Linked DNA regions of Homo sapiens: region 1 is linked to region 2. Evidence: promoter capture Hi-C in 16 types of primary human blood cells and fetal thymus (Javierre and others, 2016). All regions are on one chromosome and are shown on one strand. Each heading gives the region's core, a stretch centred on a gene start or on the middle of the fragment in contact. The rest is flanking DNA. Distances are from core to core; before and after follow the strand shown.

Region 1 (3,648 bases), core at 473-2,972, 260 kb before region 2:
AGGCGGGTGGATCACCTGAGGTCAGGAGTTCAAGACCAGCCTTGGCAACATGGCAAAACCCCGTCTCTACTAAAAATACAAAAATTAGCTGGGTGTGGTGGCGAGCGTCTGTAATCCCATCTACTCGGGAGGCTGAGGCAGGAGAATCACTTGAACCCAGGAGGCAGAGGTTAGATCGTGCCATTGTACTCCAGCCTGGGCGACAGAGTGACATTTTGTCTCAAAAAAAAAAAAAAAAAAAGACCAGCGTGGCGGCTGCATGGAGTGAGAGGAGAGGGTCCTGTCTGAGGAAGGGGTGGGGAAGGCGTCCCACTCACTTGCCCACCACTGGCCCAACTGGCAAGCGTGGTTGAGTCACTGTGCCTGGCAGCCTGCCGGCTCCTGGGGATACTGCAGTGAAGGTGAAGAGATGATGAGGCTGGAGCCGCCTTCCAGTGGTGGAGACAGGCAGCCACTGGAGTGCTTGTACATCAGCCAGGAAGGTGCTCCTGGGTGGAAAATGCCTTCTGAGGAACAGGCAGGGGGAGAGCACAGGGCCAGCTGCAGAGAGGTGGTTGGCGAGTGGGAGGGCTTCTCTGAGGAGGTGACCTGAGCAGAGAGGAGCGAATAGGGCTCAGCTCTGAGGCCGAGGTGGAGGTGGGAACGAGCTTACTGTGTTCTGGAGCACAAGGAGGCTGTGGGGCCAGTTCACCATCTGGGAGTGTGGCTTGGAGGGGATGCAGCCAACGGGGCAGAGGGACCAGGTCCTGGGAAAGGGTCTTGTAGGCCACAGGAGGGAACGGGGGGTTGGTTCTGGTTACGTTGGGAAGCCAGGGAGGGACAGGGGAGGACCCTGGGAGGGGCGTGTCCAGGGCCCCGGGGTGTCTGGCAGGCCCGAGTGGGCAGAGTCGGGAGGACCTGTGCGTGAGGCCACTGACGCCAGGCCAAGGAGCGGAGTCCGCAGGCTCTCAAGCAGGCAGGGAGCCCGTGGAGATGTGCGCGGAGGTGAGAGGCCGAGCCTGCGTCCTGGCCTGGTCACTCAGGCGGCTGACCCCAGAGACAGCCACCGTGAGACTCCAAGCTGGCCGCAGGGGAGGTGGGCGTGGCCAGGGCGTCTGCTGAGGAGATGGGAGGCTGGGGCCCAGGAAGCTGTTGAGTGGCTCCCCCAGGTGCCCTCCTGCAAGGCCCACCGTCTCCATGCCTGCCTGCCTGCCTAGGAACTGAGGCCTGCCTGTCCTCTGCCTTGGCCAGTGGGCTTCTGGGCAGGGCCCAGCTTTGTTTCGTTGAACGCTGCAGTGCTCTGGTGAGCCAGTGAGCCCTTCCCAGGCCCTCCTTCAGCCCTCCCGGGTGGCCAAGGCCTCCATCGGCTGGGGTGTTCGTTCCTGGATGCTGGGGTCGTGTGGGCTGTGGATGGGGCAGCCAGGTGGGACTGCTCCTTCATTTGGCTGTTGGGAGTTTTCTTTCCCCATTTTCTGCCCAGCAAAAGCTTAGTTCCAGCTCCACCTCTCCTCTTCAAGGAGACGGCAGTGTCCCAGTGTCCAGCTGGGGACGACTGCCCTGTGGACTTATGCACCAGGGACAGGGGCTTCTGAAAGCTGCCAGGCAGCCCTGCTGCCGCCTCCCTCCCCCGCCGCACTTCAGCCTTGCCGTGCGGCCCAGTGGCCAGCAGAGGGCATGCTTGCCCCTCCTATCGCCTCCGTCCACCCTTTTTTGGTAATCGCGTAATTTCCTTTTTATGTGAAAGAAAGCAGATACCAAGTAATTTGCAGCAATAACCTGCTAATGCTGGGCCAGTATCGAAACTCCCCTGTTCATTTCAAGTGGCAGATAAAACGCTAATACATAATTATCCTTGCAAATTGGATTATTTTAAATAACCAAAAGGCTACGGCCAGGAGAAAGCGATCCCATCTCCCCTGAGTTACTATTGCAGCGTAATTGCCGCGTTCAATCAATTTCCCTGGCATTAGAAATTCCGTCACAATCAACATTAAGCTTTATTCATTGTGATGGCTAAGAGCCGGGCCATTTCTCCTCTTTTTCTTAACTGGCAAAATTAATCAGGGAAAAGATTTTAAACATTTACCCGTGCGAAAGAGGTCAGCCCTGCCACTATATTGCTCAGCAGATAAGGGGGCTAATAAAAAGAAAATTGAATTACTAATGATCACCAAGAACAGAGTATATAAAACCTGGCCATCGCCAGTTCAGGAAAAGGGAGAATCAATTTTCTTGGGACAAGGTGCGTTCATTTTTTATTTTGGCGCATATTATCAGCAATTTAATTTGAGAGGCATAAACAGGAGGAAACAGTTAGGGAATAATGAGCCTGGAGGTGTAAAGTGCCACAGGATATATGCTGTACACAATTTATTTGGCACAACAGATAATCGCTTTAATTGAATTCAAAAGTGCATTGTTCAGCAGCACTGTGGCCGCTCACGCCTGGGGACTGAGACTGTTTGGAAGGTTTCAGCCTGACTCTTCGGTGCCTCTCCTCCCCTCCCTGCCTCTCCCGGCCCTCCGAAGTCCTCTGGGCCTGGAGTCAGACCTCGGCTGGGGGCGGGGCAGGGGATTCCTGGGGGTCTCTTCCTCTGCTGTCAGTGTGCCCCTTGCCTTCCGTTTCTTCCTTCCCTTTTCTCCTGGGGATGGGTCTGTTGGCAGCTGGGGGATGAGGATGTGAGACACTGGCCGGGTGCCGAGGCTCATGCCTGGAATCCCAACACTTTGGGAGGCTGAGGCGGGTGATTACTTGAACCCAGGAGGTCAAGACCAGCCTGGGCAACGTGGCAAAACCCCATCTCTACAAAAAATGCGAGAATTAGCCGGGCATGGTGGCACACGCCTGTAGTCCCAGCTACTCGGGAGGCTGGGGTGAGAGGATTGCTTAGGTCTGGGAGGTTGAGGCTCTAGTGAGCCATGATCGCACCACTGCACTGCAACCTGGGTGACAGAATGAGACCCTGTCTCAAAAAAAAAAAAAAAAAAAAAGGAGATAGAAGACAGCCCCAGAAGGGTGGCCTGGGCGAGTAATGTTTGCTGGAGGCTGCAGTAGAGACCTGCCTGGGTTGATCTGTCTCTGGTGGACCGATGCTAGAGGGGGCATTTGGGCAGAAGAGAAGAAAACCTTTTTGGAGTCTGAAAAATGGTGTCCTGTTTGCCACTCACATAACTGTGGCAATCAGTGTTCTCGAGTACAGTGTTTACAGTACACACGGCTGAGCACTGTGGCCAGGCTCTCACTGTGGTGCGGGGGAAGTGGGGCCAGCTTCGTGGTACATCCTCCTGGGGCCCGTCGCTGTGCTCGGCCACCCTGAGATGACAGGCATGACTCCCTAAGCCTGGCCGGCCTGTGCAGAGGGATGCTGTCCAGGCTGTACACTCCAGGCCAGGCCAGGAGTGAGGGCCAGCTCTCCCACCCACCACCCTGTGCCCAGGCTGGGGAGCTTCTTGGTGGCGGGAGGTGATGGGATTCCTACCAGCCACATGGAAACGTCTGCTATTTTACGCCAGGGAAAAGTCATGGTAGGTGGGTAGGCAGTGGTGTCGTCATCTGCTGGAGTGGGAGGGCCCTCTCTGCTTCACCCACCCAGGATGGTGGATGCATGCCGGTGGCCTGCCCCCTTCCCCCGTGGCCTGGAATAAGCCCAGGGCCCTGCCTGGGAAGCA
Region 2 (3,818 bases), core at 188-2,687:
ACACAGCAAGACTCAAACAACAGCAGCAGCAGCAGCAGCAGCAAAGGAGTAACGCCTTGGAAGGCGCGCTTAGGAAGCAGCCACCGCCTGGGCGGCACAGCAGACGCCTGTGGGGGCTGAAGCGAAGCTCCTGTCCCAGCAGAGGCTCTGGCATCTCCTTCCAGCCCGTGGCATCACCCCTCCCCCAGAGAAAGGCATAGGGAGTCTTCCAGAAAAACCTCAGCTGCTGGCCCTGTGGGAGGGCTGAAAACCGAACCATGCCTGCTGCGCATGAGTGTTTTGGAGGAAATCTTAATAAGGTTTTTCCCGAACAGCAGAGAAGAGACGTTTCCAGAGGGCAACTCTCTTCCTCAGACCCTACAGAGCCCTCAGAGACTGCAGGCTGGAATCCCCTAGTCCAGCCCTGCAGCAGCACTGGGAGACTCACTCAGGGCTCCAAGACACTTCTTAGTTTACTTTGCAAAAACGGCTTGAGTCCAATGTGAAAAGTGACTTTTCTTTCATACTGTGATAGAGTAGGAACTCCTAATCTGGGGCAGGGAGTGAAGAAAGGAACGGGAAAAGAGGACAAAAGTTAACGGATACTCAGATCTAAGAACAGCAGACAGTGCCTGCTTCGAGGAAGTGGGAGAGGCAGCTCCCACACGGCCGCCACCCCAGTGCCCGGCTTCTGGGCCAGCCTCCATCCCCTAATGATGGGAAGGGTCAGGTCACCAGGTAGGTGGCCACTGGGTGCAGGTCCTCCACCCTGAAGTCACATCTCAAGTTACTTAGTTAACTTACTGGGGACACCTGGTAAAAGGGCCTGCTCGATCACCCCGACCCTGGCTTGGCCCCCAGGACTGAGCAGAGGCGACCATCACAGCGTGGACGCCCCTTCACCCCCAGGGACGCACAAACTCTGAGCTCCAGACTGAAGGGGGAAGGGCACTCCTGCCAGCGGCTCGGGGGAAGCATCCTCTGCCCCTCTGTTCCCAGCCCCGTGGGAGCGGACCCAATCGCCGGGAGCTCGGCACAGAGCGCGTCCGCCCGGCGGTGCGGCGCTGGGGTCCGGCGGCTCCTCGCTCCGGAGCGGCGGGACCTCCGGGCCTCAGTTTCCCATCTGCAGAGTGGCGATGACGACAGCTGCCGTCACTGGGTGCCTGGGAAAGGCGCCCTGCGAACGGACACCCGCTATCGCCAGGGCCGCTGGGCGGGGCGGTCCGCTGCTGCTCCGCGACCCCCAGGAGCCCACCCCGCTCCCCGGGCTTGGCCCAAGGCCAAGGTCACGGCGAGCGGCGGCTGCAAGGGCCGCACGGCCCGGCTGGGCAGGGCTGCACCGCGGAGTACGGCGCACGAGCTCGGACTGGGCTGGTCCCAGGCACCCGGAGCCGCCGCCGCCGCCCGCGCCCACTCACCTTCCGAGCGGGAGGAGGACGCCGCGCGCCGGACGGAAGTGTCCGGCCCCGCCCCACTCCGCCCGGCCGGCGCGCACTTCCGGGACGCTCTGGGCCCCGGGAGGACCGCACGCCTCGGTGGCCGTGTGGGGGCGGGGCCGGGAGCGAAGAGGAGGCCTTTCCCCGCCCCTCCCCTCGTGGGCTGCGCCCGCGCGTGGCTTTCGCGTACACGCTGGCCCGGATCCCGCCCGCGCCTGCAAAGCGCCCGGGCGCGGGGAGCGGCGCTGCGTGGGGCGCAGAAGCCGGCGCCTCGGAGCCTCCTTCCCGACGCCGGCCCTGCACCGCCCGGGGAGCCAGCGCGGGGCCGGGCTTCGGGAGATGACGGCGCCGTCCCCACGCTGCCCGCGGCCCCTCCGTGCACTCCAGGCCTCCGGGGGTCCTCGGCTGGAGTTGCTTCCACGTTCAGCTCGCGAGTCCCCCCCGCCGCCCTCTTGGGTTCCCTCCTCGGGATGTGTCCGCAGCGATGGTCACCGGCGGCCGGGAACCGCTGCGAGACGCGCGACCTCCCGCTCCCCTCGCGGGGGCCCCAGCGCCCTCGATTCTGCCTGCTTTCCAGGGGCGTCCCCGGGAGCCTGAGGAGGATGTTACAGGTTCCCCAAAGCCCCTTCATGGACTCCTTCCTCATTTTCCTCTTGTTCAGCCACAGTTTCTCCCTCAGTTCTGTGCTTACGACCTGAAAAGAGAAAATTGTCACTTTCTGGGAAAAATAAACGGCCGGGGAGGGTTCTTTGACCGTTTTGAGCAGGGGTGCAGAGAGCCGAGGCGAGGGGACCCCTGAGCTGGAGGGGCACGCGGAGCAGAGGGCGGGGGGGCCTGCAGACGGGCAACAGCTGCCAGGGTGGACGCTCAGGGCTGTGTGGGTGGAGGAGCCCCCAGGCTGATAATATGTAAAAATCTCTAAACTCTACCGCAAGAAAACAAACATTCCAGTTAGAAAATTGGCAAGAGCCGCAACAGACGTTTGACCGAAGAGGGCACAGGGATGGCAATAGGCTCGGGAAGGGATGGCTGTCAGGGAAGGGCCGGCCAGCATCGCGGTGGGTGCCACTGCACACTTGCCAGGTGGCTCAGGTAAAAACTGCTAACAAGTGCCAAGCATCACTGAGGTCGCGGAGCAGCTTGGGACATCGCCAGTGGTAAGGCAAAGTGGTGCTGCCATTCTAGAAATTGGCTTGGTAGTTTCTTAAAAAGTTATAAGTAGCGCCGGGCGCAGTGGCTCACGCCTGTAATCCCAGCACTTTGGGACACTGAAGTGGGTGGATCACCAGAGGTGGGGAGTTTGAGACCAGCCTGACCAACAGGGAGAAACCCCATCTCTACTAAAAATATAAAAAAGCTACCCGGACACGGTGGCGGGCACCTGTAATCCCAGCTACTTGGGAGGCTGAGGCAGGAGAATCACTTGAACCGGGAGGCGGAGGTTGCATTGCGCCGAGATCGCGCCACTTCACTCCAGCCTGGGCAACAGAATGAGACTCTGTCTCAAAAAAAAAAAAAAAAAAAAGGAACTAGTACTATATCTGATACTGTTTGGAAGTGAGCCCCCTGCACATCTCATGGAAATGTGGCCCCTGATGGTGGCGGTGGGACCTGGTGGGAGGCTATTTGGGTCATGAGTAGCTTGGTGCCCTCTCCTTGGTGATGAGTGAGAGCTGGCTGTTAAAAAGAGCCTGGCGCCTCCGCCCCTCTCTTGCTCTGGCTCTTACCAAGTGACGGATGCCCTGGCTCCCACTTTGCCTTCTGCTGTGAGTAAAAGCTTCCTGAGCCCTCCCCAGAAGCCTCTTCTTGTACAGTATGACCAGGGACAGCAGCACCCTCTGAACGCTGATCTGAACTGTGAGCCAAGCAAACCCCTTTTGTTCTTTATTTACTTTTGAGATGGAGTTGCCGCTCTTGTTGCCCAGGCTGGAGTGCAATTGGTGCGATCTCGGCTCACTGCAATCTCCGCCTCCCAGGTTTAAGTGATTCTCCTGCCTCAGCCTCCCAAGTAGCTGGGATCACAGGCATGCGCCACCATGCCCGGATAATTTTGTATTTTTAGTAGAGACGGGGTTTTGCCATGTTGGCCAGGCTGGTCTTGAACTCCTGACCTCAGGTGATCCACCCGCCTCAGCTTCCCAAAGTGCTGGGATTACAGGCGTGAGCCACTGCGCCCAGCTCCTCTTTTTTCTTTTCTTTTTTTTTTTTTTGAGACGGAGTCTCGCTCTGTGGCCCAGGCTGGAGTGCAGTGGCGCGATCTTGGCTCACTGCAAGCTCCGCCTCCCGGATTCATGCTATTCTCCTGCCTCACCGTCCTGAGTAGCTGGGACTACAGGCGCTCACCAACTTACCCAGTCTCAGGTATTCCTTTATAGCAGTGCAAAATGGACAAACACAGAACTA

The links. The method cuts DNA at HindIII sites, captures the fragments that hold promoters and counts their contacts. A CHiCAGO score of 5 or more calls a contact.
Region 1: a fragment that was not itself captured here is called in contact with the fragment with the promoter of GLI4 in region 2 in 2 of 17 cell types (fetal thymus and naive CD8 T cells); the score reaches 7.6 in fetal thymus.

What each region holds. Positions count from the first base shown.
Region 1 is chr8:143,530,279-143,533,926 of GRCh38, reverse strand. The region is part of intron 3 of ZC3H3 (zinc finger CCCH-type containing 3); the gene reads left to right. Among named protein-coding and RNA genes, the nearest start is that of ZC3H3, 9.3 kb to the left of the region's middle. The HindIII fragment of the contact is 509 bases long and covers 1,468-1,976 here.
Region 2 is chr8:143,265,064-143,268,881 of GRCh38, reverse strand. It overlaps GLI4 (GLI family zinc finger 4), which reads right to left and starts at 1,437. Exons shown (of 4, transcript NM_138465.4): 1 at 1,398-1,437. RefSeq lists an enhancer at 1-421 and silencers at 982-1,101, 1,262-1,971. The HindIII fragment of the contact is 18,516 bases long and covers 1-3,194 here.